Linked DNA regions of Homo sapiens: regions 1, 2, 3 and 4 are each linked to region 5. Evidence: promoter capture Hi-C in 16 types of primary human blood cells and fetal thymus (Javierre and others, 2016). All regions are on one chromosome and are shown on one strand. Each heading gives the region's core, a stretch centred on a gene start or on the middle of the fragment in contact. The rest is flanking DNA. Distances are from core to core; before and after follow the strand shown.

Region 1 (2,712 bases), core at 17-2,516, 590 kb after region 5:
GCTATAATAATAATAAAAAAGGACATTAGAATAGTAACAGAAAAATAACACAAGACTTTAGGGGCTGGTAATAGAAGATAATTCCTCAGACACTATAAACTCCTTGCTTACTTGGTTTGTAACCAGGGAACTTTTTATAGTTAATAACCATCATTTTTTTTTTTAACTCCTCTTGCAAGAGCAAATTCAATCCAATTCTTCACTGGGACATAGTAAACAAAAAATGCGAAGGCATTTGAAAAAGTTCACCCATTTAGATTTAATTACATACATAACTGGCGTCCTCCCAAGTGTGAAAACGCTGTAACCAATAAATTAAACAATAAAATGCTATCTGAGCAGAACAGATTTATATAGAAGATGCACGAGAAATCAAAATTCACTGACTTGTTTGGAGTATTTTTACCCAGAAAAGTTCTTAAACACAGAGCAAAACGCCTGCTCTTTGAGTCTTGCCTTCTTTTGGACACTTAGGTCAGTCACTTTCCCTAGAGGGGAGTTGTTGCACAGTGACTTCGAAGTGAATAGGTTTCAATCTCAAAATCATCTCTCTGTGTTAAGGGTTCATTAGGTCTGTGCTTGTATGTTAGATTTTTAGGACCATCTCATTTGTCTAGTACCGCTTCTTACATGCTTAGTTAATGACTACTAAGTGAAGCTTAATTTAGCAGGAAGGTTATTTACATTAGAGCTTCCTTGAAATACACACACAAGGAAGACTTTGCAAACTTCTGCAAAGCCAAAGGAGTGGGGAGACAGGGGCATCCAGACTACCAAAATATCTTCCTAGGTAGTATTATTAAAAAAAAAATCCCATTAATAATAGTAATACAATAATCTGAGCATTGTCGACAATTTTGAGCTTCATGAAATGTATTTTTAAATGTACCCACTTTCAATTGAAATTTCTTGTGAATGACAAACTTGGAATAAGAAAATGAGGGAGACTGGACTCTTGCAACCTTTTGGACATACCTTTGCCAAATGTAAATTGTTTGACGGTATGGATTTACTGCATTTTTCATGCTACCATTTGTAGTAAAACTAAATGGAAAAAATCTTTCCTCTTTAACAAAACCTCGTGATAACAATACCTTAAAATACACTTCATAGCTGCTGGTCAACCATGTTAAAGGCACAATCTGATCTCTGCTGCTACTTTCCTGAGGAAAAGAGCCAATCAGCTGAGCAACTTCCTCATTTGTTGTGCTTTATGAAAATGAAAATGCAACAGACCTTGGGATTTCAAAGCCATCCATGGTTACAAGTGAGGAAATAAATATATAACAGTGGGGACTTTTACTTTATCATTAAATTATAATGCCCTTTGTTTTTCTGTTGGCTAATTCAGACAGCAAAATGGCTCTCTCTTGATTTGCAAGAGTTAATTTCTTACCATACTTTCTGCATCACACCATAAAGATAACTTCAAGTAATTTTGGTTAGATTGTGTTTTATTCATTTGTTTGTTTTGGAGTTCTAGGATCTGACAGGAAAGCAGTGTGAAACAGGCAAAGTTCAGAGTTACTCTCAGAACGACTCAAGCAGGATCCATTTCCTAGTTCCCCCCAGCTGCGGATTTTAAAGTCTGGATCTAGCTCCTGCTCTTGTTTCTCTAAATATTTATCAGTTAACAATTACACATCTGCTCCAATGGCAACAAACTTGGCTGAAGAAATAATGCTTTTCTTCCTCCCACCAAAATATGCAAAATAATGCAAGTCCATCTGAAGATTTTCGAATCCAATTATCAGACTTAAGTCCCCCTATTTTAACACTCATTTTATTAAACATATTGGAAAGTTATGTTATTTCAGTATGCTCTCTTTCTCCTTGTTTGCTTTCTATTGTTCCTACTCGTTTGGTTCTTTCCAGTAAGCTTCTCTAGTGAGTATTTTGCTCTCTTATCATACATGCCGGCTATAGTGAAGTTAATAGAAGTGCTTAGTAAAGTCCTCTGAATCCTGGTATAAGAATCCTTTCACACAGAAGAGAATTCCTTTCGCTTGGAAATATTTTAAGAAATAAATTTATGAAAGATTGTCTGATATGATTTAGATCATATTTGATCAGGACACTAAACTGAGACCTGCATTTTGCATGCCTTTTATTTTTATATTTGCAAAGGGCTCTTTACACAAGTTTACTTAAATTGACCTTTAATGCTTTACATAAATGCAGTTTTTGCAAACCCGAGTCAAAGCAGAAAATAGAAGTTTTACTCACCTTAGTATATTGAATCTTCAAATCGGTGAGTAGGACAGGTAAGTCTGGCGTGCCTGAGGATGACATTTCTGATTCGGCTCCTGGAACACAGGTGACTGGCTCAGCAATTTGGTTCTGATAGAGCACTTGGCTTTATTTGTTCCTTTTTTATCTGCACGGGCTAAAGTTTATTTGCATACTCGGATACGATTGGATGAACAAACTCAGAGCAAAAAAAGAAAACGACACTACTTATTTGTAACACCTAGGGCAGGAAGCCTTTGACTTTAAACTTAAATCCTTAAGAAACCAGTGCTCCAGCATCGAATTTGTACCTGGAGACAGTGCACTATTTGCAGATGAATTAATTTACAAAGCCGAAACCTGTGATAAGTGTATGCAGCAGCTGCTCTGGCCACTAAGGCCAGTTATTATTTTTTTGACTTCTCATGCTTTTTAATGCTACTATGTAACTTTCTGTTCTCTGACAGACTTGGAATCAGAGAA
Region 2 (2,700 bases), core at 23-2,522, 610 kb before region 5:
CTACCTAGATAAATTCAACCTTTCACAATATTTTGTAATAGTTTTAACTACACATTATGAAATGCAGTAGGCACACAGAAAAAAAGAAACATTCCACTCCACTTTATTTTGTTATGTTGACAGCCATTCAATGCTGTGATCAAAGAGAAAGGCTTCTCAACACAGAGAAAGCGGCAGCAGTTCAAAACTAGTAGGAGCTCTTTAAAAGGGATTTTAGTGTTCTTTCAGCTGCTGAGATGTTAATATGCAAGACAAAGGTACTTATCACTTACATGGTGGTTGAGGACACTTGCCCCCTAGGCTATATCATCAGTCCCCCAAATAATCTAGCCCTTCCAACCCAATGCAGAGAAGGTGCCACAGCCACACAGTCCAAGAAATGCATATTGGCCCCATCATCCCCTCATATTGAACAACTAATGAAAATACAATACTTTTGATTCATTTAAGCTCTCTCAAATCACGCCTAGGCTTTTTAAGAAAACTAATTTTTGAATGGAAGATTCAGGCTTGTGGGAAGAGCCAAGAAGTTGGCACGATCTAATCAGGTCAGTTCTTTTTTGATCAAGGACATAATTTTTTAAACAATACTCAACCTAAGGGTCAAGTTACAATTTTTGCTTTCGGAGAGTTTCAGTACAACTGGCCAAAATTTGGCTAAGAACATTTTTTCTTTTATTACGATCTTAGAAGATCTAACACATTCACTAGTATGCCCAAAAAGTAAAAACATGCAGCAAAAAGTAAAAAGAGGAGTGAGCATGAATTATCATGAAAACAGATGATACTATAATTATTTGTACTTTTGACCTAATAAAATATTTAACCAGATTCTAACTGCCTTGAATTTTCAATTAATAATTCCACATTCCCAACCTCCTACTTTCAGGAGAAGAACACAACAAAGAATAACCATCAGGGATCACCATTTAGATCTTCTGGTTTGGTTTGGTTTGGTTTGGTTTGAGGGGAAGCAGGGTTAGGGCGTTTCATTTAGTTTTGTTTTAGATTCAGATTATGTCCATTGACAAACAGTGAACTCAACAAATACCCTGTACATAAAAAAGTGTTCAATTAGAAAATAACCTTAGCAAAGCAGACTTTTTAGGTCCTCTAATTCCGCAAGTTTCAAATAAATAATTAAGTGTGACCAATACTCTCAAGAAGATTATGTACTTAAATAACTATTATAAAGGTTTTCAAAGAGTTTGGGTAGGGAGGAATCTTTCTATACGTAGTTTAGCAGAATATAATGTATCACCTATTCTATTCCCAGAGCACACAGGATAATATACATTTTTTAAAAAAACAACCACTGCAAAGAATTCAACATAAATGCTAGGTCTATACATACAGCTATTTATGAGAAAACGGACATATGGTTGAAACAATTAAGTCAACTTTCATTCAGAGATCTGCTCGATTGTGTATTAGCATACTCTCAAAGAATTGAAAACCCTTAGACCTCTAAACAGGTGTGGGGCCAAGGACCTTGGCCACCTGAAGGTTCACTGAAAAATCAACTCACAAAAGCCAGATCAACAGGGGAAAAGACACAAAACTTTATCTAATGTGTTATACACAGGAGACTTCAGAATGAAAACCCAACCCCCTGGTGGGGTACAGAAGTGTGTAAATACCTTCTAGAAATTGGAGAAAGAATGCAGGCTCAGAGCATGGCCGAAAACAGGTTACAGTAGTAAATCAGGTTTTAGCTGTAAGACAGGTTATGTAAGGAGGCTTGGCAAGCAAAGGTGGTCTTGTTATGTAGATGAACCGAACCTCACAGGTAGCACCCCTGAGAGGAGAGACGGCAAATGTCTCTTTCAGATCTGTAAGGAGTCAGACTTAATTAATCCTTCCTAGAACCGGACAAGAGAAAGCCTGGCTGCATTAATGCATATTTTCTATAGATGCAAATTTCCCCCATAAAAGACTGCTTTGCAGGGTGACTTCTGTTTGCTGCTGTTTGCTGACATCTCAAAATATGTCAAAGAAATATATTTGGGGGTAAAATATTTTGATTTCCTAAAATAGAAGATTTTCCACAGGACATGCCTTCACACTGTCCCACAAGGCGCATTCTCCATTATTTCTTTGCCCTTGTCACAGCGCTTTTGTCTTTTTCCTTCAACTCTCAAAAATCAGTATGAGTCACAATCACCTGCAACTGTTTGGCATGTTTCCAAGAAATAAGACACTCTGCACAGTTAGTTTACTTACACAGATCTTTGTTTACTTTTATTAAGCAGATTATAGCCAGGTCAATGTTCAGAGGTAGAAGGGAAATGCACCAACTCTTAATTATAAACCTCTGCCTATGAAGGGAAAGGACAAGGGACTGAGAACCCCTAATTGTTTATATGTCCCTACCTGCTTTATCTATTTGATCGATTTAGACACATATAAGTGATATTCCCAAGTTAAGCTATTGTTATAATAAACATCTGTATGCATCAGACTTCTAGATTCACACCACGTATCACTCAGATTATCTCCTTCCTTAAAGAAAAAAAAAATCTTGCCTGCCCCAAAAACCTATTAAAATATAATACAGCGAAAGTATAAGAAACTGTGGGGGTCATAGGCTTTTGGCTCCCTGAAAGTTCACTAAAATCCCTGCCATGAGGCAGTTTGATTCACAGGAGAAAAGACATATTTAATGTGTAAGCATGGGAGCCTTCAGAAGGAAAACCCAAC
Region 3 (2,795 bases), core at 2-2,501, 590 kb before region 5:
AATATATGCAGTATTACCACTAATATCTTATAAATTTGCTGGATGAGGATTACATGATCTGTGTAAACTGAAGAAATACACACAAGAAATGTAGTGTATTTTCATTATATTCACATATGGATATGTACCAGAAGAGTTGATATAGTGAATTTGCATAAGAATTGAGAAACCTGGTTATGAATATAGACTTTAATTTGAAATAATACCAACATCCTGAAATCATGCATTATCTCCAAGGTTTTATCTCTTCCTTCCTGTTCCTTCCAGGCAACCAGCAAAGAAGTATTAACCTGTTCTGCCTAGAAAGACAGGATCCTGTGTAATCTTCAAAGGCACATAATCAGAAAGGAAAAGCAAGATTAGGAGTACCTTACATGCATAAATACATAGCTGTCAAAATTCCCCCAAAGTATATTATATCAAAGCTTTCTAAATTTTCCATAGTTATTATTACAAACTTACTAAAGTACAAGAAAAAATAAATAAATCCCTGCGAAGCCTCTGGGCCACCTGGATGACAAAGGAGCTCTTTAGGAAACTTGAGCTCACCATGGATTTGAAAATACACAATTAACAACATGTCAAAAGTTATCATCAATCCAGCTCAATTACACAAATCTTTTTTTGGACAATTTCTACACTTCTCTCTAAAGAAATGAACATGAGCTGGGCACAGTGGCTCACACCTGTAATCCCAGCACTTTGGGAGGCCAACACAGAAGGATCACTTGAGGCCAGGAGTTGAAGACCAGCCTGGGCAATAAAGCGAGAATCTGACTCTAAAAAATTAGCTAGGTTTGGTGGTGCACACCTGTAGTATAGCTACTTGAGAGGCTGAGCCCAGGAATTCAAAGTTGCAGTGAGCTGTGATAGCACCATGGCACTCCAGCCTGAGCAACAAAGCAAGACCCCATGTCTAAAATTTTTAAAAAGTAAGGGATGAACATGAGACTATTTTGAAAGATAAACAGGATTACTGGATTATGACATATATGATAGATATGTTGATTAATTTGATTGTGGTAATCATTTCAAAATGTATCATATATCAAATCATCACATTGTATCCTTGAATACACAACTTTTGTCAATTATACTTTTGTCAATTATTTTCCAGCTCAATAAAGCTGGAAAAAAATTACTTGAAATAATGTAAACAAACTAACAGAAATCATCAACTACTTTTTGTTTTCAAGAATACAATGGAAAAATGCCATTCATGACAAAAGTAGAAAAATCTGATTTTATAGTCCATTTGGATATAAGAATTTTCTACATGATTAAATTGAGTCATTGTTTTCAGAAAACTATTGTGAAAATACACACGGTGCTTTAAAAAGAAGGGAAGGAATGTCAACCCTTTCCATGATTGTCTTAACACAGGGTCTTTTGTAGATGAGCTGAACACAGCTTAGAAAACTCAGAGCTCAATTATTTATTCTACAGATATTTATTGTTGTCTTATGTAGCAAACACTGATAGATTCTGGAAGCTGAATAAGACAGCAAAGCCCCTACAATTTAGTAGGGGTTTGGACCCCTAATAAAAGGAAACTGACAAATAAACCAATAACGTAATAACACGGCCGGGTGCGGTGGCTCATGCCTATAATCCAAGCACTTTGGAAGGCCGAGGTGGGCAGATCACCTGAGGTCAGGAGTTCGAGACGAGCCTGGCCAACATGGTGAAACCCCGACTCTACTAAAAATAAAAAATTAGCCGGGTGTGGTGGCACGCGCCTGCAGTCCCAGCTACTCGGAAGGTTGAGGCAGGAGAATCGTTTGAACTCAGGAGGCAGAGGTTGCAGTGAGCCAAGGGGAAAAAAATAATAATAACACATGATTATACAGACAGTAATAAGGGAAATAAACAAAATTAGGAGTAATAAGTGGGATAAAAGTTACATCGATGGCCTTCCATAAGCCACATTTCCCAATATTTACATTCTACTAAGGTCCTCTCCTACATTGACTCTGAACTTGGCCATGTGACTTGCTTTGGCCACTGTAACAACAGAAGCGTGATGTAAGCACAGGCTTCAAAAGCACTTGCACACGAGTTGGAGCAGGATTGTGAAAAAGCTTATTTAAGGTGACGTGGTCAGGAAAGACGTGTCCAAGAAAGTGATAGTTAAGCTAACATCTAAAGAATGTTGACCTTGAGGACAGGAATTTAAAAAGTGAGATAAGTTATGATGATGAGAAAAGAGAGACTGGGCAAGGTGCAGGCTCATCCCTCTAATCCTAGCATTCTGGTAGGCAGAGGCGGGCAGATAGCTTGAGCCCAGGAGTTTGAAACCAGCCGGGGCAACATGGTGAGATTTCTACAAAAAATACAAAAAATTGGCCAGGCGTGGGGTTACATGCCTGTAATCCCAGCTACTCAAGAGGCTGAGGTAGGAGGATCACCTGATCCTCAAGAAGTTGAGGCTGCAATGAGGCCATGATCGTACCACCACACTCTAGCCTGGGTGACAGAGCAAGACCCTGTCTAAAGAAAAAAGAAAAGGAAGGATCAGGGCAGGTTAAGGCTTGAGGACCAGAGAATCAAGGCTTGAAACATTGTGGACCCAGCAGATGCCAATGGCAAACTTTTTGCATAATTTCTGCTTGAGCTACCGTTATCCAGATACCACAATAAAACAAAAGAAGTTATAAAGGTCCAATAATTTTCCAGACAGACTCTCCACTTTATACAAAAACATAGAAAAATCACTTAGTTAAAAATCAGCAACAATTTTAAGAGGGCCAGACAGCTTTCATTGTTGTGTCCTTGGAAGTCCTGAGTTGTCATGT
Region 4 (2,700 bases), core at 198-2,697, 550 kb before region 5:
GAGCCAAGATTGCACCACTGCACTCCATCCTGGGCGACAGAGTGAGACCCTGCCTCAAAAAAAAAAAAAAAAAAAAGAATATCTAGACATGGCTGCCAAGAAAAAGAACATGAACTCAAAGAGAAAATAAAATGGGTCTTTAAGAAAATAACAGCAAATCATTTAAAACATGAGTAAAGTTAGAGCATATGACCTGGAAGATTAACACAAAACAACTTTGGGTTACTCATGTGTACTAATGTCAGCTGTATCATTTCCCTATCACTGATAGGTATAGGAAACTGTACTGTGTTGGTAAAAAGCAGGTAAGAAAGGGGATGGCTGTCAGTAACTCAGCCCCGTATTACAGTAAAACTACTCCAGAAAACCTCTGGCTCAAAATACTGCAACGTACAACAGTGGGAACACAAAGTGACCAAAAAATATTGTTACAACTTTCCATTCCAGAAACATTTAGAGACGACCCACCATGAGATGACCTTGACCAGGCGTGGCTGAACATCTTCATTATAGCTACAGCAGAAACATCATGTGGTATTCTTAAGACAAATTTCAGGGCCCAAAGAAGCTATTCAGGATCCTGTTTTCCACTTGCTTCAATATATTTAAGCTCCTTGAACTATGACATCCTCCCAAATAGGTTCGCTGACTTCCTTCACTAAGGCACCCACCAAATATTTGTTGAGCGCTTACCATGGGTCAGGAACTGTTCAAGGCACTGGACATAGGGTGTTGAACAAGAAAGAAAGACATGATCCTTGCTGTCATGAAGCATTCATTTCAGAGTCATACTTCTTATGTTCACACACAAGTGAAGTGGTATTGGTATTTCAGAGTGAATGTGTTTTATAACCAATATTGATATTTTTCTTCTCTAGAGGCTCCCTTTATTTCTTAGTCACAAAACAAATATTTTTGAAAGATAGCAATGAAAACTTGGAACTTTTAGAAAAGCCATTTATTGCTAGAAATGGGCTAAGCTTACGTTTTCCTAAAATATCTGTAGAATGAAAACATAATCCAAAAAGGCACACATTCGCCAAGAGTGCAGCACGCTGGTCTTTGACTTACATAACTCTAAGGAAATAACTAGTTAGTTTCTGTTAATGTTTGATGAACTTTGACAAATTAGCACGAAGAATTAGATCAAATGAACTGTATGCACTGTCTGAACAAGAGGGATAAGCAAAAAAAAAAAATCCTCTCTAACAAGGAATGTTGGACTCAAGCATACTCTCCTAGAGGAGAAAACTGAGACTTCCTAGATGTAAAGCAACTGGCTCTAAAACACAGAATTAGAATAAAGGGAAGGAGGTCACTGGAGCGGCAAGGGTGGGGGTGAGCTTTACAACAAAGAATGATGATCACTAGATTTCAGCTCTGCGTCTATACGGGCTCACTTCCTTCACATGGGGAAACAAATAAAAATAAAAAAAATAGGGAGAGTAGCTAGGAGCCAAGGCTCAGCTGGGAACAACAGGAAGCAGCCGCGAGCTGAGTGCCATTGTGGCCACTTCAAATGGCAGAAGGTGAGAAACCAGCACAGCTGGCAACTAAAAATGAACTTGCAAACACGAGCGGGCAGAAATCAGGATTTCAGCCTTTGGGGATGCAACAGTGAATAAGACATGGGGCCTCTGTTCTGGAGAACTCTGAGATTAGAAGAAGAAATAGATGAATTACACAATGTGATAAAAGGGGAGAAGAGTCAAAATGAGGAACACAGTGAACCCGGGTAGGGAGGCAGATGATTAATTCAGTCCAATAACACAGGTATCATAGAGAAGGGATTATGCTGTGGGTATTGAAGTATAAACAGGACTTTTCCAGGTAGACAACTTGGAAAGACCACAGCATTTCAATTTGGAAAAGAGCAAGCTCACAGGTAATGAAGTAAAATCATGTATTATGGCTGAAGCTTAAACATCAAGGGGGAAAGAGAGTAGATAAATCTAGAGAAGTAGGTAAGGGCTTTGGATATTATTCTGAGGAAAGCCAGTGAAGCATTTTGTTTGTTTGTTTAACTTTGTTTTGAAAATAAATATAAGCGTACAGAAAAGTTGCCACAATAAAAAAGATTATACAACATACCTGTGTACCATTTATCTACTGTTAACATTTTGCCCCATTTTTCATTCCCCCTCTCTTTCTTTCCATATATATATATGTAATTTTTGAACCCTTTGAGAGTAAATCGCATACAGCCATTGAAGTGATTTCATTAGCGGGAGAACATGATCAGATTTGTGTTTTAGAACAGTCACTCTTATGGGAGTAGGGAGATCTTCAGGAATATATATCAGAGGCCTGGAACTAAACTAATGAGAAATCAAATGAAGGGTATGTCTGTGGGAATGGAGAGGAGAGAGTACATTCAAGAGAGAAATAAGTTTTGCCCATTGCATGTGGTCTCTGAGGGATGGGGTAAAAAGAGTGGAATCTGAGTTTTGGGACTGGGTAACTGAGTGGTGGAGACCCTGTCAAGACAGAGAATAATAAATACAACGTAAGAAAAATATGAATAGTTTATATCTATTGAATGCTAATTATATGCTAGGCACAGTTCCTAACACTTTAGGTCTATTAATCCATTTAATCCTCAAAACAATCCTAACAGGTTTGTTCTTTTATTAACTTCATTTTACAGATGATTTAAACAAAACATGTTTACAGAAAAAAAATTTTTTTAATTAAAAAACG
Region 5 (2,700 bases), core at 26-2,525:
CCACGGAGTGCGTGGAAAGCGAGCAAAAAATTTCACATTCATCAGCCTAAATGCACCAAACAAAGGAGGTGTTCCATTTCCTCCATGAAAACGGATCTCAGGATAAAAACGCAGCGACGTCGAGAAGCCCAAAAGACGACGCCGAGAACCCCCGGCCCCATGTTCCAATGGATTTTGGAACAAGTTCGGGTCCCACTGATACCCCATCCCCCTCTAAGCAAAGGCCTCACTCAATAAAGCCCAACAGGGCCCTCTCCGAAAACCACTGAGTCATGCAGAACAGCAGCTCAGCAGGCCCGGCCAGCCCTTCGCCTGCAGGCCCCACGCGGATCCCCGACCCCCGACCCCCGACCCCGAACGGCTCCTCTTAGGGGAGAGCTAGGGGGGGCTGCAACGGGCAGGGGGCGCGGCCGCCGCCTCGGCCTCTTTGTTTCTCTGGGTCGTGGTGCCCACGCCGGGCGCCGCCGCGGAGGCGAGCGGCCTAGAGGCCGGCCCCGCAGAGGCGGCACGCCGTGCATTGTTTCCCGACCGTGCTGTGGAGCGAGCCAGGGACGCCGGGAGCCAGGTCTCGGGCCACGACGACAGGATGACGCCTCCGTCTTTGTGCTTCCTGGGCTGGCGGGCGGGCTCCCCTCCCCCGGACGCCGCCATCCGCGGCCTGCTCCGGCTTCGCCATTGGCCCGCGGCGCCCCGGTCCCTTCACTCCCGCCCCCGGCCCGGCAACAAGGAGCCCGGCTCCCACCCGCAGCCCCGTATCACTCACCCTGCAGGGTCCCAAATGCGAAAGCCGGGTTCGCGCGCGAAGCCGGCACGATGAGGCCGGGCCGAGGCCTCCGGGAAGGCTGAGCCGGGCGCCCTGGTGCCGCCGCCGCGGGCCGGGAGCGGGTCGGAGCAGCAGGCGGAGGTGGCGCCGCCGCCGCCGCGGGGTCTTCCTTTGTTCCTGCAGCAGCGTCGAGCGTGGCCGGGACACGCCGGAGCTCGGGAAGTGGGAGGAGGGAAGCGAGGGGGGGCCGAGGAGGAGGTGGAGGGAGGACCGGCGGCCGCAGCGGCTAACGCTGCTCGAGGCGCTCGCCTGTCGTCGCCTCACGCCTCCACAGGCCGCAGGTTGGGCGGACGAGGAGGGCGAGCGGACCGCGCGCCGCGAGGCCTGGGGCCGTAAGGGCCCGCTGATGGCGCTCTTCGCCGCTCCTGCCACCGCCGGGGAAGCTGCGCGGCTCCCGGGAGCGAGCGAGCCCGCGTAGGAGATGCACACAGCTCCGCGTCCCGGCCGACTAACGCACTCGCCGCCCGGCGCCCGGGCTGTGAGGGAAAAGAGGGGGAGGGGGCGGGACCCGTGCGTCAGCGAAAACCCCGGCGGCGGCGGCGGCGGCGGGGAGCGCGGTGACGTCGCGGGCCCAAGGCCACGCCCCCGGTGCCCTGTCAGTAGGTCCAGGAGGCGGGGCCGAGACGGGTTGCTGTGCCTTCTCGCGGAGCCCAGCCACTGGCCTGGCAGTCGGCCCCTAGGGTGGAGCTGGGAAGAGCGAGTCCTGTGGAGGATGCGTTTCTATTTTTAACCCAATTGTCCGCCCTCAGCCTCCCTCCTTCGGATTTTCTCATTCAAACCCGTTTTTCGCCATCCTAGTTCTCACGCTTTGTCTCCAGCCCTGGGCAGACATTCCCTCCCCCAAGAATCGTAAGGATTCACCCCCAGAAAAGGAAAAGAATTGCCTTATGGCTTCGAGGTCTTTTCTGTTTATGAAACCTCCTCACTCCCCACACCCATTTTGAGCTCCGAAGTCCAGCCCGAGCGTGGCCCTGACGCAGCTGGCGGCGTGCGTTCGCTCGCCCAAGGTCACGGGTGGTTGTGCGGAGTGAGGAAACGCGCGGCCGCCCAGGGCTGCCAATGCCCCGGCGGCGCTGTTCTGAACAAACTGTTTTGGCCAGCCTGTGAAATCCCTGGAAATTGACGATTCCAGCAAAGCGTCGTGAACTGGGAAAGCACCAAATGTTCTACTCAAAAGCCGCGAAGGGACAAAACAAGCTAGACCCGAGGCCCAGATGAAGCGGGAGGAGGAGGCTTGCGAGAGGAAGTTCAAGGGGGGAGGTACTAGGCGGGCAGTTCAGGCACGAGGCACAGGTCCCCCATGGGTGAAAGGATGACTTTACCCGGAACACTGGGAACCTTTTCAGAGCACAAACAAAAAACATTTTCAACTGACCGCTCCAAGTGAATTTCAGTTCAACTCAAAATAACAAAATTACTAAGTCGGAAAGGACTTCTGAAATTTTCTAGTAAACAACGGTCTAACGAATACATAGAAATGATGTTTAGGGTTTATATTAGCCACATATAGAATGGAGAAGAGGTCCCTTCAGTGTTTCTCAAAGTTGGTAATCAGAAAAAAAATCACCTGGGGTGATTAAAGATTCCTACGCATCTCCCCTGGATATGGTTTTGGTTGTTCCGGGGTGGGAGCGGGGGTGGGGGGGGGCCCATATTGCGCTTCAGGTGGTCCTTATTTATAATCTGTATTTGGGGGAATGCTATACTGATAGCTTGAGCCACCACTGCCAAATCAAACAGTTCTCCGCCACAGTTAGCAAAGTACCTGGAGCATAACAACCTTTTGTTTTGTTTTTTAACAAATTCGGGTTTATTACTGTGATCAATTAATGTATTAGAGATTTAAGTAGTTTGGGTCACTGGTCCCACGACCACTG

The links. Contacts are between HindIII fragments. The CHiCAGO score rates a contact against its expected background, and 5 or more counts as called.
Region 1: a fragment that was not itself captured here is called in contact with the fragment with the promoter of ZFAND5 in region 5 in 1 of 17 cell types (monocytes); the score reaches 5.1 in monocytes.
Region 2: a fragment that was not itself captured here is called in contact with the fragment with the promoter of ZFAND5 in region 5 in 1 of 17 cell types (neutrophils); the score reaches 5.1 in neutrophils.
Region 3: a contact is called between a fragment that was not itself captured here and the fragment with the promoter of ZFAND5 in region 5, in 2 of 17 cell types (total CD8 T cells and fetal thymus). The highest score is 7.1, in total CD8 T cells.
Region 4: a fragment that was not itself captured here is called in contact with the fragment with the promoter of ZFAND5 in region 5 in 1 of 17 cell types (fetal thymus); the score reaches 5.1 in fetal thymus.

The regions. Positions count from the first base shown.
Region 1 is chr9:72,950,709-72,953,420 of GRCh38, forward strand. It overlaps ALDH1A1 (aldehyde dehydrogenase 1 family member A1), which reads right to left and starts at 2,345. Exons shown (of 13, transcript NM_000689.5): 1 at 2,227-2,345. The coding sequence starts at 2,292. The HindIII fragment of the contact is 1,221 bases long and covers 657-1,877 here.
Region 2 is chr9:71,756,800-71,759,499 of GRCh38, forward strand. The region is part of intron 1 of CEMIP2 (cell migration inducing hyaluronidase 2); the gene reads right to left. Among named protein-coding and RNA genes, the nearest start is that of CEMIP2, 10 kb to the right of the region's middle. RefSeq lists an enhancer at 50-693. The HindIII fragment of the contact is 3,934 bases long and covers 1-2,700 here.
Region 3 is chr9:71,776,253-71,779,047 of GRCh38, forward strand. No RefSeq gene overlaps it. Among named protein-coding and RNA genes, the nearest start is that of CEMIP2, 9.1 kb to the left of the region's middle. The HindIII fragment of the contact is 1,656 bases long and covers 424-2,079 here.
Region 4 is chr9:71,815,870-71,818,569 of GRCh38, forward strand. No RefSeq gene overlaps it. Among named protein-coding and RNA genes, the nearest start is that of CEMIP2, 49 kb to the left of the region's middle. The HindIII fragment of the contact is 938 bases long and covers 979-1,916 here.
Region 5 is chr9:72,363,933-72,366,632 of GRCh38, forward strand. It overlaps ZFAND5 (zinc finger AN1-type containing 5), which reads right to left and starts at 1,276. Exons shown (of 7, transcript NM_001102420.3): 1 at 764-1,276. RefSeq lists enhancers at 279-982, 983-1,687 and silencers at 295-1,124, 1,135-1,514. The HindIII fragment of the contact is 8,298 bases long and covers 1-2,700 here.